Regions from separate parts of the Homo sapiens genome. Here regions 1, 2, 3 and 4 are each linked to region 5. Evidence: promoter capture Hi-C in 16 types of primary human blood cells and fetal thymus (Javierre and others, 2016). All regions are on one chromosome and are shown on one strand. Each heading gives the region's core, a stretch centred on a gene start or on the middle of the fragment in contact. The rest is flanking DNA. Distances are from core to core; before and after follow the strand shown. Region 1 holds the start of PRAF2 (PRA1 domain family member 2). Region 2 holds the start of ZNF81 (zinc finger protein 81). Region 3 holds the start of SYP-AS1 (SYP antisense RNA 1). Region 4 overlaps UXT (ubiquitously expressed prefoldin like chaperone). Region 5 holds the start of EBP (EBP cholestenol delta-isomerase).

Region 1 (2,700 bases), core at 201-2,700, 550 kb after region 5:
CGGCGCACAGCTGCGCGGGTCTCAGCTGCCCACACCAGCACGCCGAGGGCCACCGCCACTACCAGCGCGCTCAGGAGCGTATGAAGTGGCCGCACGTACCTGCGGGTACAAGGGAACCAAGCTAGCCGGCCGGGCGGAGAGACGGCCTCCGGACCACCACCCACCCTGGGCCCCAAGAGCCAGGGTCTCCCGTCTCCGGACACTCCAGCCTGGCACATCCTCCCACCAGCCCTATCTCCAGCAGGCCCATCTGCCAGGGCTCCCGACTCACCCTTGTAGACCCCTCCTTTCCTCCTTGTCAATTCCACTGTCCTGTCTTCCTCAGGTCCCCGCTTCAGGCCCTCCCATCCTGCTAGACACTCCCCACACCCCCGGGCTCCCAACACTTCCCTGGACTTTCCTTCCGACTCTGCCCCCGTAGGGCCCCTCATCAGCCTGCCCGCAAGCTCCCCCTTTAACACCAGCCCCTGCAAATCCCTCTTTCAGGCCTTCTGTCTTCACACGTTCCCCTCTCCCCAGGCCTAGGGTCCTTATAGAACCGCCCTCCAGGCTCCCATTTCCCTATAGATTCCTCCCTCCATCATTGCTAGGACCTCTTCCAGGTCGTCAGCCCCACTCTGAACTTTCAGCACTGCTCAAGTCCTTCCTCCAGATTCTCCATCCCTCTCTGGTCTCAGGCTTTCCAACCATGGATCCTCCTCCTGGGCCCAAGTTCCCCAACAGGTACCTGCCCCTGGCGCCTTCCAATCATAGCCAGGCTCCCCTCCAAGACCGGATCCCCAATAAATACATCTTCCAAACCCTCCAACTTTACCGTCTATTTCCCGGTCTCTGCCCTAAGTACTCCAGGGTCGGCCTCAATCTGGCCCCATCATTCACATCACACCCCCCCTACGCCCCTCAAGTACTCTCATGTCCCCCTTTCGGGCCCTCCTTTTTTTCCGGTTCACCTTCCAGCCCACTTTCCCCTTCAGTCCCACACTTGTCTCCATCCTCCCCATATCTTCCTTGCAGACCCCCATCCCCCGCAGGCCCTCCTCATCAGCCAGGCTCCATCTCCCTGAGGCCCTCCTTATAACTAGGCTCCACCTCCTTCAAGGCCCCCCTTCCAAGCCCCTCAGGCCGTCCATCTCTACTGACTTCGCCCTTCCCGGCCTTGCACCCCCCTCAGGTTCCCCGTCCTGGTCCTCAAAGACCTGTGGGTCTACCCCCACGCTCTGCAGACGTCCCTGGCCAACCGGCGCCTCCCTCCCTCACCCGGCGAGAGCGAGGCCGATGCCGAAGCAGAGAAGGTAGTTGGTTTGGTAGTAGAGGAGGTTGTTGATGACGCGGTGGCACCATCGCTGCGGGTCGCATGGATCCGGAGCCGCCAGACGCGCCGACCCCAGAACAAAGTCGTCCAGGGCGCGTAGCGGTGGCAGCCGCACCTCCGACATCCTGCCGGTTAATGTGGCTGGACCAGCCAGGAGGGGGCCGGACTACAACAACCGTTACGCCCCTCGCCACCGCGGGGCACACCGGGAAATGGAGTCTGGGCTGGGCAGCTTTTTCCTAACCTCCTAGGTGGATTGCGCAGGGGCGGCGATGCACGTGACCGGAAAAGCAACTAACACGCCGCTCAGGAAAGCAGCAAAGGCTGCCGGGAAATCAAGCCTTTGCCACGAAGCGAGATGCTCCCAACCCTTAAAACTGCCATCCACCCCCGCGCGGGGCGCCGCAGGGGCTGCTCCGGGCGGTGCCAGCGGCTCAAGCACAAAGTAGCCAGACAGATAAGAAAGGAGGGACTGTCACAAGGATCCGAGTTGGATTCCACCTCCTTCCTGTCAGCGCCCAAGAGGGTCACATTTCTCCAGGAAACTCCATGCCCCGCCCCTGAGGTCAAGCCGTAAATGCCATTAAGGGCCTTTTATTCGTATTCATCACATCGGAGATCATCTCTTCCTAGGAAGCTTTTAAAAAATCCCCAGGTTGGATTAGGGCACTCCCTCTGGGTCCCTGGCAATTTCCTCCAGGTTAGGGATCCCAAGGGGTCGCTGCCTTCCTGGGTCTCTGGCCTGGCCCTTGGGGCACACAGTCATCAAGAAGTGCTGGGGGGAAGTGAGCTCTTTATTTAGACATAGCTCTGCTGAGTGGAAAGTGGGCACCAGCCCCATTAATGCTTGCTGGCTGGTGGCTTCCAAGCACGCCCCACTGCCAAGGCTCAGCTCTGCAGTTCTGCCACTGCAGGTCCCTAGCACAGCCCCCAGGGTCCTTAAAAGTCATCATCATCACAGATGTCAAGGTACACGTCGAAAGCCTCTCTGTTGCAGTTTCCATCAGGAGTGAAGACATATTTGTGGAAGGTCCCATCTACGCAGATGGCTGGGGGAGGGGGGGTGGTAAAAGGTCAGAGGCTGCCACAGCCACAGGCTCCAGTCCTCTCAGGCATCTCAGGACCTAGGGTCTGCCTCCAGGCCTTTGCCCAGTGCTGTCCCCCTTACTGATGATGAAGCTGAGCCTCACATGGCCCTAAAATCCTTTCAGGTCCAACCTGCAGGCCTTTGCCCCATGCAGTACCCCCAACCAAGGGGCTGTTCCCACTCACCAATGACAGAGTTGACGTTCTTGGAAGTATTGCGACCGAAGGCGCAGATGCAAGCTGACTCAGCAGGCACAGTGAAGCTCGCCAGGCTCCACTGAGAGTCCACGTACTGCCCAATC
Region 2 (2,700 bases), core at 108-2,607, 680 kb before region 5:
TGCTTAGTGAGCTGCCCATGGTGCCCCTGGTGTGCAGTCTCCCTTATTGATTGCTGGATCTGTCAGACTAAAAATTAGTTTGAGGCTAATTGGACTAGGACACCTCTAACCTTCGAGATTGTTAAACCGAGGGCCAGAGGGGATAAGACTGGATTGAGAGCCCCCAGCAAGTCCACACTTCAGCCTACACCAGGTCCTCTCAAAATATTTTTTTCACCTGAGGATTCAGAAAGGCTTTCAGGAGGGCACACAGGCTTCTAGCTCTGTCAGGATTCTCTGGAGGAGGAGATATTTGAACTTGATTTTGAAGGATGAATAGGCATTCTTAGGTGAAGGACTGCACGACTTCTTCCCCTTCTGCTCCAGTGACATCTCCCAGAGGGCAGGGGCATCTCCAGAATTTACACATTGGAGGTGATATGGAGCAGCAAACTGGTTGAAGGGTAGAAGCAGAGCCTTGTATTAAAGCTACATTTCCAAAGTAAGGGCACCATGACCACATATATTTTACTTCATGAGGAAATAAAAATAATAAAGTTTCCTAAAGATTTTTATTGACATATTGCATTGGACTAAGGACACATTAAAAATTATTAGTATTGGTACTACGTAGTCCCTTTTTAGCTGGGGTAGATGGAGTGGGAGATAAGGTAAATTGCTGCAGCATTCAAACCTCGCATCCAAGCCCCACAGGCACAGCAGGAGGGGAACCCAGCACTCTGAGTTCTCCCTTTTTCCCACCTCATGGCATATCCTAGGAGGGCTTGCATAACCATGATTTCTCCTCCTCCTCCTCCCCTTGTGGTATGTCCTAGGAGAAGCCTGTAACCAGCCTGACATCTCCCCGCTTCTCATCCTGTGGTATCTGCCAGGAGATAGCCGCGGCCGCCCCTGATTCTTTCCAAGAGGCCCTTCAGTTTCTCGGAGCGGTATCACACAGATCCATAGACTACAGGTCCAAAGACCCCCTCCTCCAGTTAGCCCGCCCAGAGAAACGTCCCCACCCGTGCTCCCTGCCACCAGCGGGACAGCTCCACCTGAGTTTAGAGCAGACAGCTCTAAACTCACAGCCTGCTCTGTGAGTTCAGAGGTGTCCTCATCCTCAATACGGATGGACACTCCTCCAACATGGTGTATCCCATGGGGAAGCGCGACGTGGGCGCGGCCATGTTCCCCACCTGACCACGCCGCCGAGGGGTACCGAACGTCCCAAAGCACCCACTTCCGTAACTTCTCCATGTTGACTCCTGGCTAACAGCAGCTTCAAAGGTGGTTTTGCGCACGCGCGGAACCTCCGCTTCCCTCATTCATGTGAAGTCCCAAACCCCGAAAAAGGGCGGTGCTAGGGGTAGTGACCGGAAGCGGCTGCGGTTCTCGCCGGTTCTCAGCCGGGGTTTGATAGTTGTCAGGAGGATTCGACGTTCAGTGCCCAGGGATGTGGAGGTGATGGGGGGCCGGGGAGGGTGAGTGCTGGGCGATTCTGTGTGGCCAGTGATGGAATCGTTTATCTAACTTGAGTTGGATGATTCACTCATCATTTTGCAGGCTTTTCTCTTTTCTAACATCACCGTTAAGGTCTTAAAGTTCATTCTAAGCCCCATTGGGTTTGGAGCATTATGTTTTTTAAGAGTGTTAACTTGTATTCATTTGTCTTTTACCCGGGAGTTATTCAAAAGTGGGGTTTCAGTGTGCAAAAGTTTATCTCTGTAATGGATCTCTAACCTTAGTTTTCTGTGTTAGAAAAATATCTACGTGAAGCTCATTCCTTGAAATATAAGGAGACTTATGGCCTAGTCCGTGGTGAATTTTTAGAAACGTTCTATATATAACTTGAAAATAATATTTAATTATTTAGTCGTCAATTGTGTCATAGAAAATCTATCCTTTTTTGTCTGCTTCTTCTATTACTTCGAGGAGAGAGAAATTCTCCACTGTGATGGTGATTTGTCTGTGTCTCCTTACTGCTGTCTGTGATCCTCTGTGAGTTACTTTTTGTATAAAGTATGAGACTTAGGTCGAGGTGCATTAATTTGCTTATGGATGTCCAGACTGAAGCACCATTTGTTGAAAAGACTATCTTTCCTCCATTGACTTGTCTTTCACCATTGTCAAAAATAAGTTGGCCATACTTGTGTGTGGGCTCTTTCTGGGTTTGCTATTCAGTTCATTGTCTATGTGTCTATCCCTCTGCCAGTACTACCTTGCTGTCTTGAATTGGATAGAGTGATTCCTCTCACTTTATTCTTTTTCAAAATTGTTTTAATGCCTCTGGTTCCCTTGCCTTTCCTATATGCATTTTAGAAAATCTTGTCTCTATCTACAAAGCATCTTGCTTGGATTTTGATAGGAATTGCATTAAACCTGTATACCAACTCGGGAAGAAGTTAAGTCTTAACTGTGCCAAGTCTTCCAATCCATATACATAGTATGTCTCTCTATTTATTTAGATCTTTTAAAATTTCTATAAATGGTGTATTTTAATTTTCATCACCCAAGTTCTGTACATGTCTTATTCAATTTATACCTAAGTATTTAATTGTTTTGGAGTGGTCATAAATGGTGTTATCTTTTAAATTGTTGCTTATATATAGGAATACAATTGAGTTTTGTCTGTTGGTCTTGTATCCTGCAATCTTGCTGAGCTCAATTATTAGGTTTTACACCTTTTTTGGCAGATTCCTTGGATTTTCTGCATGAGCA
Region 3 (2,700 bases), core at 140-2,639, 680 kb after region 5:
TCTTACTTTTGTATCTTGTTTATTGCCTGTCCCTTACCCCTTCGCTGGAACAGAGCCAGAGGGCCACAGCCTATGTCTGCCTTGCTCACCACATAGTCCTAGAGTCCAGAGCAGTGCCAGGTACAAGGCAGGTGCTCAGTGATCCCAGTGGATGTAGCCTCGAGGTGGGAGCTGGGCAGGAGCTACTTGCGGGGGGAGGTATTGGCCGGTTCCACCCTGCCCCTTCCTCTCCCAGGTCTGTTGGTATCCCAGGGTGGGAGCACACCTGAAGGGGTACTCGAACTCGACCTCGATGCTGAGGTCACTCTCGGTCTTGTTGGCACAATCCACGCTCAGCTGGAGCTCCCCACTGTAGCTGCCGCATGTGGCAAAGGCGAAGATGGCGAAGACCTTGGGCAGCAGGGATGGGGATGGCCACAGTGAACCTGTGTGCATGTGGGAGGGAGGTGCCCTCCTCTGGACAGATCGGGGGCCCAGCACAGGCAGCAGCAGATGGAGCAGTCCCCACCCCCACCCCCTAATCAGGGCTCATCGGGACCAAGGACAAGCTGATTACAAGGGTATGGCTGTCTCTTCCTGTTTCTCTCTCTGTGTCTCTCTCTGTCTCTGCCTTTCCATGCTGACCTCCCTCTTCTCTGTTTGTCTCTGTTGTTCTCTGTGTATCTCACTGTGTCTCTGTTTCTCTCGGTATCTCTGTTTCTCTATGTGTCTTTGTCTTTCTCAGATGTCTCTTTGTCTCTCTGTGTCTCTGATCCTCTCTGCCTCTGCCTATCTGATCTGTCGATGTCTCTTTTTGTCTCTTTTTTCTCTGTCTGTGTAAGTGTATGCCTGTATGTCTGTGTCTTTCTGTTTCTTGGTCTGTTTGTCTCTGTCTCTCTGTCCTGTCTCTCACTCGGTCTCCGGATGGTTCTCTCTCTGTCTCCCTCTTGCCTCTGTGTGTTGGTTTCTCTTTTTTCTGAGTGTCTCTTTCTCTCTGTGTCTCTCTCTCCCTCACCCTGTTTTCCTGCCTCTCTCCCTGCGTCTGTTTCTCTTTGCATCTGTTTTCTGTGTCTCCTTTTTCTTTGTTTCTGTTTGTCTCTTCTCTCTTATGTCTGTATCTCTTCTCATCTCCATATTTCTTTTTTTTTTCTCAGTATTTCCATCTCTGTCTTTATCATTCCCTGTCCCTCATTCTCTCTGTCACCTTCACTGTCTCTGGGTTTCTCTGACTTTGCATCTCTCACCCAGCATCTGCTACAGGCTCCACCTCCCCCACCCCTCCCTCACTTCAAGAGAGGAGGTAGGACGTCACAGTCTCCCACTTCACAACGGGGGTACCCTCAGCCCTATGTGACGTCACAGCTCATCTGTTTTCTGGCTTCAGACCCCTGAAACCTCACCCTGGAGCCCAATTCCCCCATCCCCTACAACCCCCGCACTCATCCCTGGCTACTCGCCCCTACTCCACCCCTGCTCTTCTGGACCCCATGACCTCCCTCTCTCCCTGCACTCTGCCCCAACAGCCCGGACCACACTCACCCATTGCAGCACCTTCACAAAGCCGAGGGGCTCCTTGACCACCCGGAACTGACCCCCAGCCACCAGCTGAGGAGAGAAACAGTGGGGAAGGGGTGGGGTTGTTGGAGGTACAGGGAGGTGAGCGGCAAGGCTGCCCATCAATGACCCCAGGGGATGGAGCATGTGACCTCGGGGAGAGGGTGAGAAGGAGAAAGTGACACCTTGGGGATGGTGTGAGCCCCAGGGTCCAAGGACTGGTGGGAAGGTCTGAAGAGATGGTGAGTCAGATGGCAGAGGAAGTCGGGGGTGAGGGAGATGGGGATGAGGTCAGGACTAGTTAAGGAGGGGGAGCAGGTTTGAAACGTAAAGGCGAGTCGGATGGGGAAGGGGTTCGGGTAGAGAATGGGGATGGAGTGGGGTGCATTCGGGTGGGGGGGTTGTGATGGTGAAGGTGAGTCATAACGGGGCAGGAGTCGGTTTGGCTCAGGTGGGGGAAGGGTCTGCAGGGGTAAAGGTGTGTTAGACGGCGGTGGCGGTAGATATTTGAGGTGATGGGGATGGGGAAGGGTTGGGACTGATTGGGGGTGAGTTTCTGAGGTGGCAAAGACGAGAGACATGGCGGAGAGGGTCTGGACTGATTAAGGTGGGGGAGGGCTGGGACACGGCTTCAGTCGCTATGTGTTGGGGGTGAGGAGGCTGGGGGTTTTGGAAGGAGTAAAACCGGATTGTCCCCTAGGTGTGCTCTGGGGGAAGGGGTGGTCGCCTATGGGGGTACAGTCTCTGTTTGGGAGGGGCGGGTGCCAGCCCTCTCCCCCATCCCCGCCCCCACACCTTCTGTCGCTCTATTTCCTAGCTTATCCGCAGCACCCCCCATCTTCCTTCCACTCTCCCCTCCCCTTGTCCCTTGCCCTCACTCCAGCCCCCAGGCCCCTATTCCTCCCCTCGCGGTCGCCAGTAATAAACGGGGCTCCGGGGGCCCCCGCTGCGGCAGTGAGGACGGCCCTCGCTGCGGCAAAGAGCGCACTCCTTTTCTCCACCTCCCCCTTCCTCCCCTTCACCTGCCGCAGACCCCCATCCCCAGCGCCGGGGACCGGGTCTCCGCTGCCAGACCCTGGCCACCACCTCCCAGAGTCGGCTGGCCTGAGCGACCCGGCCTAGGCAGCCGGGCGGCGGCGGGCTCTGTCCACGGTGCTGGAGCGCGTA
Region 4 (2,700 bases), core at 22-2,521, 870 kb before region 5:
CATCATTCATTTGTTTATTGTTTGTCTCCCCTGACTAGAATGTCAGCTGTATGAGGGCAGATTTTGTTTTTTTTTGTTTCCTGCTCTATCCCCAGGGACCAGAACAGTGTGTGGCACAGAGGAGGCACCCAACGTATGTTGAATGAATAAGTGACTACTCCATTAAAAGGAACCTGAGGTTGGCTGAGTGTATGTTTAGGGACAGGAAATAAATGAAGTATGGGTGTTGTTGCCAGAGAGCAAGAATACTTTCAAGAATATTCTGGGGGTAATGCTTAAAGAACAGAAGAATGAACCTGATCAGCTCCTAAGGGACAATTTTAACATCAAAAAAGAGAACAAAATTAGTTAATGGTGTAAGCTTACCTTATGAAAACCTATGAGTTCAACACTTTAAAAGGGAGAAAAATACAGAGTTCACCAAATGCTAGCTGTAACACAAAAGGGATATGTTTATTACTGCTGATTTATTTTTATTTGCTATGTGAGAAGCAAATTACTACTGATTTAGTATGTAAGGCAGTGTGAATAGTCATATGGTTATGCTTTTTTTTTTTTTTTTGAGATGGAGTCTCACTGTGTCGCCCAGGCTGGAGTGCAGTGGCGTGATCTCGGCTCACTGCAACCTCCACCCTCCGAGTTCAAGCGATTCTCCTGCCTCAGCCTCCTAAGTAGCTGGGATTACAGGCGCCTGCCACCGTTCCCGGCTAATTTTTTGTATTTTTAGTAGAGACGGGGTTTCACTATCTTGGACAGGCTGGTCTTGAACTCCTGACCTCGTGATCCACCCACCTCGGCCTCCCAAAGTGCTGGGATTACAGGTGTGAGCCACCGCGCCCGGCCGTTAGGCTGTTTCTTCTATAATTACATGTCTATTCATGAGATGTGGATGTGTACTCCTTTCTGTGTCATCAGGAAAGAATATAGAGATTTCATCCCTTCCACTTCCCAAACAAAGAAATATACTAAGAACAGGAAGAACTGACACTTTTGATCACATAAAATGACCAGAAAGTTAGTTCAAAGTATATCCCAAGTAACCAAATATTTTTAAAGGACAGCCAGCTACATAGACTCAAATCTTCATCTCTTAGAAAAATTAAACTTCTAGACAGTCCTACTAATTACAATAAAGCAGTAAGACTCAACCATATTTTTCATCACACTAACAGACCAGGTCAGTACATCAAAAAGACCAGGCAAGGGGGCAGGCACTGACAATTTAAATACTTCATTTTGGGGAAGTACGTGGAGTCTCAAAACATTAAAATCTATTTGATAGGCTCAGGAATCCTGTGACATAACAAGGAAAGCCTTCTTATACAAACTAGACTTTAGCTGGGCGCGGTAGCTCACACCTGCAATCCCAGCACTTAGGGAGGCTGAGGTGGGCAGATCATCTGAGGTCGGAGTTTGAGACCAGCCTGGCCAACATGGCAAAACCCTGTCTCTACTAAAAATACAAAAATTAGTCGGGAGTGGTGGTGGGTGCCTGTAGTCCCAGCTACTTGGGAGGCTGAGGCAGGAGAATCCCTTAAGCCCAGGAGGCAGAGGTTGCAGTGAGCCAAGATCGCACCACTGCACTCCAGCCTGGGCGACAAGAGCAAAATTCCGTCTCAAAAACAAAGTGGACTTGGTCTAAATGACCACCAGTTCAGAATTGTGTTGACCATGAAAGCAGGCCGTTTAATTAAACTATTTGCTAATTGGTCTGAACACCAAGAATCAGAAATCTCAGCAGGTCTGAGGTTCTTTTGGGTCCACTAGCACCTGCTAGTCCTTCCCATGGCTGGAAAGGTTTGAAAAGATAAAAATTACTGAAACTCTAAGGGAGGCAACTCTGGAAAAAATGAATGTAGAACAGACATAAACACAAAACACAACCAACAAAGAAGTTTAAATCAATGGTACTCACACTTGTGAGATGTTGTTAATCTAAGTGTATTGCTCAGTGCCCCCATGCTCATTCCATTGAAACCAAGCTCACCTCTCTTGGTAGTTTCACTAGCATACCAGGCACACTATTCCTCTTGCCAGGAATGCTCTTCGCCAGATAGCCCCATGGCTTTGTCACTCAGTCAAATGATTCAAATGTCCCTTCCTCTGGGAGGCCTTCCCTAGCTACATTTCAAATCCCTCATCTATGCTCCCAACTGCCCTTCCCTGCACAAAACCGTAAATCAAGCTTGTCCAACCTGCAACCAGTGGGCCACATGCGGTCCAGGACGGCTTTGAATGCAGCCCAACACAAATTCATAAACTTTCTTAAAACATTATGTGATTTTTTTTTGCAACTTTTTTATTTTAGCTCATCAGCTATCATTAGCATTAGTGTATTTTATGTATGGCCCAAGACAAATCTCCCAATGTGGCCCACGGAAACCAAAAGATTGGACACTCCTGCCTTAAACTCAACTGGAGCCCACATTTTCTCTCCCCATCACCCCCAACACAGATCTGCTTCAATAACCACTTTAATATGCTTCCAGCATACCCTTTCAAATTATTTCAACAAACACAAAGCCGGGTACAGCAGTGCGCCTGTAGTCCCAGTTACTTGGCAGGCTGAAGCAAGGGGATTGCTTGAGCCCAGGAGTTTGAGGATGTAGTATGCTATGATCGCAGCTGTAAACAGTCACTGCATTCCAGCCTGGGCAACACAGCGAGACACCATCTCTTAAAAACAAAAACACAGAGTGT
Region 5 (2,700 bases), core at 1-2,500:
TACTCCTTGACCCCCTCCATCCTTGACCCCCAACACCTCAACACACACACACACACACACACACAAAATCACACCATTTTCATGCCTGTCAATCCCCACCCCACCACAAGGCAGGAAGGGGGTGGTGCCTGCTGGGGCCTAGAGGGGGATGCTTGGGGAAACAGAGAAGGGGAGATCCAGGGCCTCCCCGCCTTCCTTCTTCCTTTTTATATACAATTTGTTATTGTCAAATAAAAGTAGGAAATATTCAATAGGCTTCTTCTTCACTGCTCAGAGGGGAATAGGAATGAGTGAGGAAGGGAGCACAGCATGGATAAAGGTTTGGAAGCTGGAAACCATGAAGAGAGAGCAGACTGTGATTGGTTCATGGTTAGTTTATGATTGATTAGATGATGAGCCTGAAGATGGCAGGATCCTGGTCCTGCTTGGTTTGATCAGGGCAGGGACAGATTGCATAGTTGGATGTGGGGGAGGCCTGATTGGCTGGAAAACTGAAGGATCCCCATTCTGATTGGTTGCTCTGAGTGGGACACAGAGGAGAGAAAGCAAGAGAGATGAAGGGTTGGTGCCTATTTATCCTTAGGACTGAGGGTTGTGGGTTCTAATTGGATGGGAGGTCTGGGATGGGTCTGGATTCTGATTGATTGCTCCATCTGGGGGCCCACTGGTGGTTAGGCGTTTGATTGGCTTTTTAGAACTGGCATATGGAGATTGAGGGTCTTCATGCCAATTGGTCAGTAGGACTGAGAGGCCTGGGTTCTAACTAGTTCTTCTGACTTGAGGTCGGGAGAAGAGAGAATGACCGCTGCTATTAGGACTGAGGAGTTCTGAGCACTGAAGAGCTGGGGAGGGGGTGGTTGCAGTGTATAGCGTGTGATCTGCTTGTAACAGTTTCGTTGCATTATACTAAGGGTTACTCTACCTAGAAAAGGGCGGAGGTGAAAGGATGCAACGCAACGCTAATTTCACCAGCGGAAGAAGCGGGTACAGACCTTAATGAGTCCCCGTTTTGATCGACTGATAAGGGAATGGGGAAATTGAAGCCAGGACTCGATGCAGATTGGCTACGGATCCAAAACGCCCACTAACCTTGGCGCGTCCCAGTCTCCACCCCAAACCTAACTCAGGTGAAAATGGCGCCACGCGCGGGGGCGGGGCTAGAGGTACAAAGAGAGTGTCTATTGGTTGGGAGCGGCACGGGCCGCCTTCTTCGCTTCACCATTGGCTCGCTCCGTAAGGCAAGAGAACCCACTAGGGGATGAGCCCGAACTAGGGATGTGACAGAGCGCGAGACCCAGCCTAAAGAGAGCCCGGAGCCAGCGTGGGAGGCCGCTGCCGTCGCGCGCCTTGGTGAGTGCCCTCCACCCGGCCCCTGCTCCCTCCCCCAGCTCTCCCCGGCTACGCGGCCAGCCCTCGGCGTGCCAGCGCGAGACCCTTTGCCACCCGCCCCCCCCACCGCCCTTTTGCGCCTGCGCGAGACCCCCAGCTACCGCACGGTTGTCCAGAGGACAGAAGATCCGTCTTCTCATTGGGCAGCGGGACTGGAGGGTTCTGGTTCGGATTGACCGGCTTTGTGTTCCGTTCTAGCGCTGCACGCCAGACACCGGCCTTTCAATATCCGTCTCTTCCCTGCAGGTTGACGGCGTTGCACGCTCTCGCGGGGAGGCTCTGGCTTTCCAAACGCTGGCACCGAGGGTTGTAGTTCTGATTCGTTTTCTTTCCTCTGTCCCCCAGTTGCAGTTTTCAGGACTACGTGGGGGAGGGAATAGCTTTTTGTTGAACGGTTTAAGACGCTGACCTGTGCAACTGGACCACGCCTGGTTCCTGTGTCTCTTACCAAACCGTGACCCCGGAGCACAGGACTGGGTTTGGTGGTCGTGAGCAGTTTGTGACCCTTGAAGGAAGACACCAGGCCTGGTCCTGTATCTCCCTCGCCAGACTGTGACCAGGGAGGGCTGGGATCAGGTGTTGTTCCCATGTGCCTCCCACCAGACTTTGACCCCCGAGGGCTGAGACCGGGACTGTTTCTACCACATCATAATATGGCTTCTAAAGGGCTGGAACAAGCTTTCAGCCTTTCTGTGGCCTTGTGTTTCAGTCATGTTCTTTTTCTTTTCTTTTTTATTTTATTTTGAGACAGAGTCTCGCTCTGTTGCCCAGGCTGGAGTGCAGTGGCATGACCCCGGCTCACTGCAGCCTCTGCCTCCCAGGTTCAAGCGATTCTCCTGCCTCAGCCTCCTGAGTAGCTGTAACTACAGGCGCACGCCACCACACCTGGCTAATTTTTGTATTTTTAGTAGAGACGGGGTTTTGCCATGTTGGCCGGGCTGGTCTTGAACTCCTGAGCTCAAGTGGTCCACTCGTCTTGGCCTCCCAAAGTGCTGGGATTACAGGCGTGAGCCACCGCGCCCGGCCTTCTTTTTTAGAGGCAGAGTCTCAGACTGGAGGGCAGTGATGTGGTCACTGCTCACTTCAGCCTTGAAGTCCTGGGCTCAAAGCGATCCTCCTGCCTCAGCCTACCTACTAGCTGGGACTACAGGCCTTTGTCACCACACCTGACTGATTTTCTTATTTTTTTAGAGACAGTTTCGCTGTGTTGCCCAGGCCGGACTTGAATTCCTGGCCTCAGGTGCTGCTCCTGCATCAGCCTCCCAAAGCACTGGAATTACCTGCCACGGTGCCTGGCCTTTAGTCATGGTC

Evidence for each region. The method cuts DNA at HindIII sites, captures the fragments that hold promoters and counts their contacts. A CHiCAGO score of 5 or more calls a contact.
Region 1: the fragment with the promoter of PRAF2 here is called in contact with the fragment with the promoter of EBP in region 5 in 2 of 17 cell types (activated CD4 T cells and total CD8 T cells); the score reaches 6.3 in activated CD4 T cells.
Region 2: the fragment with the promoter of ZNF81 here is called in contact with the fragment with the promoter of EBP in region 5 in 2 of 17 cell types (M0 macrophages and M1 macrophages); the score reaches 6.8 in M0 macrophages.
Region 3: the fragment with the promoter of SYP-AS1 here is called in contact with the fragment with the promoter of EBP in region 5 in 4 of 17 cell types (naive CD8 T cells, neutrophils, non-activated CD4 T cells and 1 more); the score reaches 9.6 in naive CD8 T cells.
Region 4: a fragment that was not itself captured here is called in contact with the fragment with the promoter of EBP in region 5 in 2 of 17 cell types (total B cells and total CD4 T cells); the score reaches 6.3 in total B cells.

Annotation. Positions count from the first base shown.
Region 1 is chrX:49,072,552-49,075,251 of GRCh38, forward strand. PRAF2 (PRA1 domain family member 2) reads right to left here and starts at 1,451. Exons shown (of 3, transcript NM_007213.3): 1 at 1,258-1,451; 2 at 1-99. The coding sequence starts at 1,436. It overlaps WDR45 (WD repeat domain 45), which reads right to left. Exons shown (of 11, transcript NM_001029896.2): 10 at 2,585-2,700; 11 at 1,891-2,361. The coding sequence ends at 2,252. RefSeq lists a silencer at 1,634-1,733. The HindIII fragment of the contact is 3,027 bases long and covers 1-1,947 here.
Region 2 is chrX:47,835,545-47,838,244 of GRCh38, forward strand. It overlaps ZNF81 (zinc finger protein 81), which reads left to right and starts at 1,358. Exons shown (of 5, transcript NM_007137.5): 1 at 1,358-1,443. RefSeq lists an enhancer at 1,106-1,485. The HindIII fragment of the contact is 3,931 bases long and covers 1-2,700 here.
Region 3 is chrX:49,197,450-49,200,149 of GRCh38, forward strand. SYP-AS1 (SYP antisense RNA 1) reads left to right here and starts at 1,390. Exons shown (of 2, transcript NR_046649.1): 1 at 1,390-1,775. SYP (synaptophysin) reads right to left here. Exons shown (of 7, transcript NM_003179.3): 2 at 1,519-1,584; 3 at 266-390. RefSeq lists silencers at 2,577-2,626, 2,697-2,700. The HindIII fragment of the contact is 12,908 bases long and covers 1-2,700 here.
Region 4 is chrX:47,653,663-47,656,362 of GRCh38, forward strand. The region is part of intron 5 of UXT (ubiquitously expressed prefoldin like chaperone); the gene reads right to left. Among named protein-coding and RNA genes, the nearest start is that of UXT-AS1, 3.8 kb to the right of the region's middle. The HindIII fragment of the contact is 1,824 bases long and covers 360-2,183 here.
Region 5 is chrX:48,520,558-48,523,257 of GRCh38, forward strand. EBP (EBP cholestenol delta-isomerase) reads left to right here and starts at 1,251. Exons shown (of 5, transcript NM_006579.3): 1 at 1,251-1,350. PORCN (porcupine O-acyltransferase) reads left to right here. Exons shown (of 15, transcript NM_203475.3): 15 at 1-251. RefSeq lists silencers at 92-151, 1,066-1,295, 1,356-1,535. The HindIII fragment of the contact is 9,622 bases long and covers 1-2,065 here.